2 separate regions of the Homo sapiens genome follow, and region 1 is linked to region 2. Evidence: promoter capture Hi-C in human tissues and cell types (Jung and others, 2019). All regions are on one chromosome and are shown on one strand. Each heading gives the region's core, a stretch centred on a gene start or on the middle of the fragment in contact. The rest is flanking DNA. Distances are from core to core; before and after follow the strand shown.

The links. Contacts are between HindIII fragments. The study calls those that stand out against the background at their distance.
Region 1: a contact is called between a fragment that was not itself captured here and the fragment with the promoter of SP140L in region 2, in 3 of the 25 tissues and cell types used here (hippocampus, lymphoblastoid cells and spleen).

What each region holds. Positions count from the first base shown.
Region 1 is chr2:230,587,746-230,591,770 of GRCh38, reverse strand. LOC112268431 (a long non-coding RNA gene) reads left to right here and starts at 2,115. Exons shown (of 5, transcript XR_002959453.2): 1 at 2,115-2,273. RefSeq lists enhancers at 1,958-2,207, 2,368-2,517. The HindIII fragment of the contact is 6,376 bases long and covers 1-4,025 here.
Region 2 is chr2:230,324,894-230,329,298 of GRCh38, reverse strand. SP140L (SP140 nuclear body protein like) reads right to left here and starts at 2,106. Exons shown (of 19, transcript NM_138402.6): 1 at 1,998-2,106; 2 at 468-542. The coding sequence starts at 2,029. RefSeq lists an enhancer at 1,963-2,432. The HindIII fragment of the contact is 8,396 bases long and covers 1-4,405 here.

The sequences.
Region 1 (4,025 bases), core at 605-3,104, 260 kb before region 2:
CTCTTAAACAGTCAGCCAGGCGCAGTGTCTCACACCCGTAATCCCAGCACTTTGGGAGGCTGAGGTGGGTGGATTGCCTGAGGTTAGGAGTTTGAGACCAGTCTGGCCAACATGGTGAAACCCCATCTCTACTAAAAATACAAGAAAAATTAGCCAGATGTGGTGGCGTGTGACTGTAGTCCCAGCTACTCGGGAGGCTGAGGCAGGGGAATTGCTTGAACCAGAGAGGTAGAGGTTGCAGTTAGCCAAGATCATGCCACTGCACTACAGCCTGGGTGACAGAGCGAGACTCTGTATCAAAAACAAAACAAAACATAACAAACAAACCAAAAAACAGTCAGAAGTCAGATTCAGTGGAACATGATTTGGAAAGCATCATTCTGGATCACGGTACCCCTGGGGCCCCTGAATCCTCACCTGCTTTTGGGCTCTGCTCACCTTAAGCCCTAGATTCTAGCATCCCTGGGGCTCCCAGCTGCCTCCCTGTCTCTGCCCCACAGTTCGGCTCAGAGTTCTGGTCCCTGGTTTTAGTTCATGTCCTACTTTCATTCTCTCTTTGCTCCAATTTATCTTTAACTTTGTACTGATACATTTCAGTATTTTAAAAAGTCACTTCAAATCTTTCTTGAATAATATCAGAGTATGAGTGAAAAAAATCACTGTGTACAAACATAAATGTAGCTGGATCTTCATCTCACCCCTTAAGACCTAGATAATCTTGGTTCTCATCCTCTTGGCCCATCCCATGAGAATCATTTCTGAGCTCCACTGCCTGGACATCTCTAGGTCATTGATTTTGTTAGGTACATTTTCTACTTCCCCATGACTGCAGGTGAGAGTTTTACAGAACTTTTACTACTATATAACAAGGGTCTCCTTCCTCCAGATTCCACTAGTGTTTCTCTCGCTTTCTCATACACTGCACTGACATCTTCTGGAACACCTTTAGGCTTCCATCCACTGCTCTGTCCCACAGCCAAATGCCCCATGTTTTATGTTTTTGTTATAACTGCATCCTACTTCAAAATCTGTTCTAGTTATACTACTGTGAAAAAAAAAACTACCCTAAAGCAGTGATTTAAAACAATAAAAGTCTTATTTTATTTCGTGATACACCTGCAGTTTGGACAGAGCTCAGTGGAGATGGTGTGTGTCTGCTCTAGATGGGTATCTCCTGGCAGCTCGACCAGGGCTGCAGCATCAACTTCCAATATGGCGCACCACATGGCTGGCTGGCTGGCTGGGGCCCTCCTGTGGTTTAAGACCTGGTCTTAATATCAGCATAGCATTGCTTCTGCCATATTCAAACATTCTGTTGGTCAAGCAGTCACATATCCCAGATTAAAGGAAAGGGGACACAGACTCCACCTGTCAATGGGAGGAGTGTCAAATTCTGGGGATATTTTTTAAAAGCCTTATATCTGTACTATCTTTAAAAGCTTGGCTATTTTTACCAACTTGGCTCCTGCCTCTGGCCCCAGTGGTCCAGAGGTTTCTCTTTTTCCTCCCTGCCTGCTTTCCAGAAATTTCTAAGGGCATTCCCCTGACTTTATGATGTAGAGCATTTCAGCTTCCTCCAACCTATATCCAAATGCTTGGGGTCTAACTTGTCCAGTCAAGGTCACAATGTGCCCCACCAACTCATAGGCCTGAGAAAGGCTTGGAAGTTTCTGTCTTTCCCTTTTTTTTTTTTTTCCCATGGCCATGTCTGCAAGGGGAGGAGGCAAACAGAGTTTTACTTCTCTCTAACATCAACTATGTTACTTCACCTAGAAACAACTTCAGTCAGCTTTGGTCAAATAGAGTTTTCTGCCCTCTTTCCTTTGCATAAACACATGATCCCCTGACTTCCATGGACTTCTTGGAGTTGGCCTCCTGTTCCTCCTCCTTGGCCTGTACCCTCTTCTGGTCCTCCAGTCATGATTCTGTAAGTCCTTCTTAATTCCCGGCTACCATATTTTCACAAGAGTTGAGAAACCCCACTATCTGTGGCCTAGTTTTCACAAATACAGAGGCATTCAGAAATATTAATACTTTCACTTCCCTTTTCTACTTTCTGGGTGAGTCAGTTCAGACTTTTTGTTCTGGTCCCTGGGAGCCATGTTGGAAAGCCCACATTGGGCCTGAGAGTTCATAGATGTTGACGGATGGTGTGTCAGCCCCCATGGGGCTCTGCAGCCTAGAAAGTAGCAGGACCAGGAAGTCAGCAGGTGGAGGTGGCAAGTGAACAGAGGATGCGTCTTTTTCTCCCTTCCTTTGTCATCTTTCTCCATGTGGGTTTTTATATTTATTTACTTATACTTAGTTTTATTCCAAAACTTCTTTGAACTGGGTCATAAAGCCAACTGCATATTGTAAAGTAGAAGAAACTAAGCTCTGAGAAATCAGGTAAAAAGTGGCAAGTGATAGCTGGTGATGGAACGCTACCTATCCTGGCTTACCCTTTTGCAAATGTTACCTGGGTGAGACAAAGACATTTGAACCCTGAGGTTTCTTGTATTGGTTTTGCTTTGTTTTTCTTGGTATAGACCTAGGAGTGTAATTGCCCGGTCATAGGGTGGCTTTAGTAGACACTGCCAGTTTTCCAAAGTGGGTGTCCTAATTGTCACTCCACTAGCCACGTATGAGTGTTTCAAACAGCATATTCTTCTCAACATTTGATGCTAGGTTTTTTTTTTTTTTGTAGATCTTAGCCATTTTGGTGAATAGATAGTGGTATCTTGGCATAGTGGTATCTCATTGAGCTTTTACTTTGCATTTCCGTGAAAAACAATGCTTTTGAGCACTTTTTGATATGTTTATTGGTCATTTGAGTATTTTGTTATGAAATGCCTGTTATTTTGCCTATTTTTTTAAAAAAAATTGGGATTTTTGTGTTCTAATTACTAGACATTCTTCCTACATGTTCTACATAGAAGTCTTCTGTTGGATATGTGTTGTGAATATCTTCACATATTCTGTGGCTTTTTTTCACTCTCTTAATAGTGTCTTTTGATGAACAAAAGTTCTTAGTTTTAAGTAAGTCTAATTTGTCAGTGGTTTCTTTCATAGTTAGTGTTTTGGGATCTTTTGCAAGAAATCTTTGCCTACCTTAAGCCAAGAAGATATTATACTACCTGCTCTAGAAGCTTTACTATTTTATCTTTCATATTTAGGTCTATGATTCATTTGAAATAAATTTTTGTGTATGGTATGAGGTAGGGTGTTCAATTGCTCCAACAATACCATTTCATGAAGTGACCATCGTTTTCCCCACTGAAATGTGGCGGTGTCTTTGTTGTAAATTTGGTGACCTTATGTGTGTGTTTCTCTTTCTTGTAGTCTCTGTTGATTTATATGTTTATCTTTATGCCCATATCATGTTGTCTTAGTTATTGTAACTTTATATGAAGTTAAAACATTGTGATTCTTTTTCAAGACTCTTTTGGCTAACTTTGGTCTTTTGCATTTTCATTTATATTTTAAAATCAATTTGTCAATTTCCACAAACAATTCCACTTGAATTTTATTAAAATTATATTGAATCTATGAATCAGTTGGGGATAACTTACATATTAATATTTAGTCTTCAATCCACAAATATACCTTTCCATTTATTTTGGCTTTCTTTAATTTCTCTCAGCAAAAGTTCTATGATTTTCAGTGTAGTGTTCTGGAACATCTTTTGTTAGATTTACCTTTATTGTTAGTGGTTTTGATGCTTTTGAAAAGGATATTGTTTTTCTATTTTTATTTAAACTTATAATTTGCTAGTATACAAAAATACAATTGATTTTTGCATATTAACCTTGAATCCAGATACTTTACTGAAGTTACTAATTAATTCTAATAGTTCATTTCTTTAGATTTTCCAAGTATATAGTCATCTGCAAATAATGGTAGTTACATTTCCTCCCTTTTGGGTTTATTCTTTTCATTTCTTTTTATCACCTGATTGCATTATCTAGGATTTCTAGTAAGTGTTAAATGGAAATGGTGACAGTAGACATTTTTGTCTTGTTCTCAAATTGAGTGGGGAAGTATTT
Region 2 (4,405 bases), core at 857-3,356:
TAAAAATTGAAAAAGAAAATGTCAGAGATTTTAGAGAAGGAACTTTTCCTGGAACAAAGGCAGAATCAAATCTGCCACCTTAACAGAAGAACGACTTTAAAAACTGGCCGTGCTCACAGAGTGCCTCAGCAACTCTCTGCATCACTATTTATAATGAGGGTGCATCTGTCTTATAAAATCTATGTCGTAAGATGTTTATACATGAAATTTTAAGCTGTTAATAAGATAAAAGTCACCATATACAAATGTAAGGGACAAGAAAAGTATATTTATACTTTGCAGAATATTTAGTGAACTCTCCCATATCATGAAAAAAAGACAAACACCTCAACTGAATCACATTGGCAAAAAATAAACAAAAAAATTATGGAAGAGGAAATTTCAGTGGCCAAGAAACATGAAAAGCTGTTCAGCTTTCCACATTATCAGGAAAATACAAATTAAAACAAATTGTAATTCTTCATCACCTTTGCAGACTTTGGCTGTGTGCAGGAAGATGGTTCATCTCATTTGCTACTTGTGAAACACCTCCGTTCAGCCCCCTAAAAAGACAATTTGGCAGGATCTATAAACAAGTAAATAACAGCACCCTTTGCTTCAACAATTCCACTTTTTAAGGTTTAGGCACAAGAGAAATACTTGCATATGTGCAAAAAAAAGAGAAATATATAATCATTATTATAGCTTATTGATAAACGTGAACAATTTAAAACAATCTAAATGTCCTTCAATTGGAGAATGGTTAAAAAATTATGCTATGTAAATTCTATGGAATAGTATATGTAAAAAGAGTGAGGTAGATCTATATGCATTAAGGTGAAAAGATCTCTAAGATTTCCACCATTAAAATGAGTAGAAATGCAAAATGCAGAATAGCACGCACAATGTAATTCCATTTATTACAAAACGAGAACACAAATTATATGTTTACAAAAACATACTTCATACACGTAAATGCATCGAAAAATATGAGAAAAGTTATGCCGAAGACTCTTCACAAGACTGTGAAAGGAAGCTACAAGGCGAAGTGAGTGGTGAAGAAGACTTTTTCGTTTATACACTTCTCCACTGTTTGAAATTTTATGAGTAAGAATGTAATGTATTTCTTTTGTATTAAAAAATTTAAAAGATTAAAATCGCTTGAACCCAGGAGACAGAGGTTGCAGTGAGCCGGGATTGTGCCACTGCACTCCAGCCTGGTTGACAGAGTGAGACCCTGTCTCAAAAAAATGAAATAAAATAAAAAGATTACGTAATGTTATTTATAAACTCGTTACTAGAGAAAAGATAGGATTTCCATCTCTTTTCTGGTCAGAGGCATCCCCCATCTTGGGACAGGAAATTGAAGTAAAAATAAAAATATTTAGCTTTCTGCCATCCTGGGCCTTTTTCTTCTTTTTCCTTCTTTGGATCAAGGTCAATTGTATCAGAACTCACACCCTGAGTCAGTCAAGGAAATAGCCCCAAAGCTGACTGAGGCCCCTTGCCAAGACAGGTGAAACCACAGTTTCCAATGTTTAAAAGTAAGCCAGCTGTTTACCCTGGAGTGTCTATTTCCAAACTACCTTCTTTGACATGACATATGTGAAGGTAGAGAGGGCAGAGGGATGTGAAAGGGTTGGGAGATCATGAGGAAATGTTTGTTGAAACACAAACATATAATTTGTGTTCCTCATTCTCATGAGGAAATAATAACTCTCAGTCACAAATGACTGAAACGACTGTTCAGAGTGTCCCCGCCAGCTGAGCAGTAGTTTCAAAACAAGAAAAGTCATCTGTGTTATGGCAAGCTGGACTCACACAAACAGCTGTCCTGCTGCAGTTGTAAAAATCTGATTTCCTTATTACATTCTCTTTTATTCCATTATATTACACTACCTACCTATGTTCTTGCAAAGCAGGACTAAACTGAAGCTTTAGACAGAAACTGAACTACAGGCATGAAAGCTCCAATACTGCCAGAGATAAAGGTGAAAGGAAGAGAGATAAAGACTCACCTGGTGCTCAGGTCGCTGCCCCCACCTGCCATCGTCCCACCCTAGGCCCTGCCTGGGTGTCAGAGCCTGGCCTATGAGCTCCCCAGTCGGCCCAGCCTGCGTGCAGTGTGGCTGCCCTGACCCGGAGCAGGAAGTCGGCCGACAGACTGACTCACCCTCACAGATTTCTGCCCAAATGGGGAAAAGAAAAGTGAAAGTATTTATTTAACTTCCTGCTGGGATACAGACACCGTGTTTCTCCTCCTTTTTCACTCCAAGGGGTTCTCAGCTTTTCTGAAATGTGGCAGACGGTTGGAGGAGAGGCCTGACAAGCAGCAAGACCTGCAGGACCAGGGAAAGGAGGGCCCAGAGGACGAGCAGGGCTGGCTTCCGGGAGTCCACTTGCTTGTGCAATGGACAGCAAAAAAAAAAAAAATGTCCTTGAACCAAAATAGTCCTTAGCTGCTCTGCCCTCTTAAGAGGGGGCATAGTTTACATGGGAGTTGGGGGGAAAACTCCATGTTTGCCCCTTCCCCTTGCTGAAATGGCTGGGGGTGAGAGTTGGAGGGTTGGAGGGAAAGCCAGAAACTTCAAATCTTCTCTCAGGCCCATGGGAGAGCATGGACTGGACTAAGGTAGGTCCTGACATGGGGACCCAGGGCTGGAGAGAACCAAAATGCTCAGCATTATAACCTGGGGAGAGTGTTCTTAGCCTTCCTGGAAATCAGCCAGAAGTAAGAGAGAACTCTCCACACCCCTGGGACCAGAGGCTGGAGCCAGCATGGTAAGAAAGGCAAACATTTTAAGGGGCAAGGGTTTAAGGAATCTTGACTATGGGGCCACCTTGGAACAGCCAGGGATGAAGAGAGCTTCGGAGAAGTCACTGGAATCTTGAGAGAACAAAAGCTTCTCATTGGAGGAGGATGGAGGTTGGAACCCAGATGATCTAGACATGGAAGGGCAGGGTGGCTCCCGCGGGAGGTTCTATCTCTTCCCAGATTTTCCATTTAGATTCTGATTCAACATTCCTCAGAGAACAAGAAGCGACCGAGAAGACTCGCTTTACATCAGTATAAAGTCATAGGTAAAGAAATAGAAGCAAAGGGCGCATGAGAATGGGGCCACAGGACACAACCAGGGACCAGAACTCCAGGCTGGACCATGGGGCAGAGACAGGGAGGCAGCTGGGAGCCTGGGGGCGCTGGAATCCAGGGCCCAAGGTGAGCAGAGGGTGGAAGCTGGTGAGGATTCAGGGGCCAGAGGGGATGGTGCTCCAGAGCCATGTTTTCCAAATTACATTCTGCTGAATCCAACTTTTTCCAGCCCCCACCCCCAGCCATCTCAGCAAGGGGAAGGGGCAAACATGGAGTCCTCCCCCAACTCCCATGTAAACTATGCCCCATCTTAGAGGGCAGAGCAGCTAAGGACAATTTTGGTTCAAGGACTTTTTTTTTTTTTGCTGTTTATTGCACAATAGTTGGAAGCTGTGAATGCTTGTTCAGGTACATTTGAAAATACGAGGGTGGGGGGTTTCTACCCTGATTCTACTGGTGCCCTGCTTTCCCCAAAATGAGTTAATAAGCAGGTGCCAAGACACTGGTGAGGACAGCTTTTCCAGTGGGCGAGGTCACTGTTTCTATCAGGTACTGCACACCTGTAGGTCTCTCTCTCTCTTTCTCTTGCTCGCTCCCCCATGACTCCCCAGTTTTATGGAGGCACAGTGGCTGGTAAGCTGAGCATCTGTTGGGCACAGTTGTCCTCTGATCCCAGTCTCCATGGAGCACAGCAGCACTGACAAGGCCTGGCGCGGACCACACCAGTCGGCTCTGGCGTCTGCACTCACCCCTCTCACTGCTCTTGGGCAGCAAGCAGGCCCAGGCCACTGAGTGGCACTGACATATGTACCAGCTTTTCTCTGGGTGTGCTTAGGGGCTGGAATTCCAGACCAATGAGCTGGCTGGAAATCTGCAAGTGTTGACCTTTACAGGTGGACATGCCCTTGCTAGGGCAGCTCCTGACAGCAGGGAAGGAGATGTTCTTGTCAGACAGGGTTGGAAAAAGCTGAGCACACACCACACTCTGCAAAAGCAATGCCAGTTAATGGAGAATCTCTAGGCTTCTGTGGGAAAAGCAAAGTTTCTTTGATCTGGAATACATCAGACACACCTGGGTTGGGAAAGGGACAGGACCAAATTAAGAAGTAGTATGAAGTTCTAAAAATCCTGCTGGATTGTTTAGAAGGAAATAATGGAACTCCTGGAGCATTTTCTATGGCTGCAAGGAGTACAGGCAACAGGGAATGTTTTTGCTGTCACAGAAGTAGTTCCAGTTACTGGAGCCTGGAAAACTCAGAAGCAGGAGAGGCAGTGATTGAGGAAGAACCACAGGCAGGGCACCCATCCAGGTGATGGGCCTTCGTGAGCTTCACC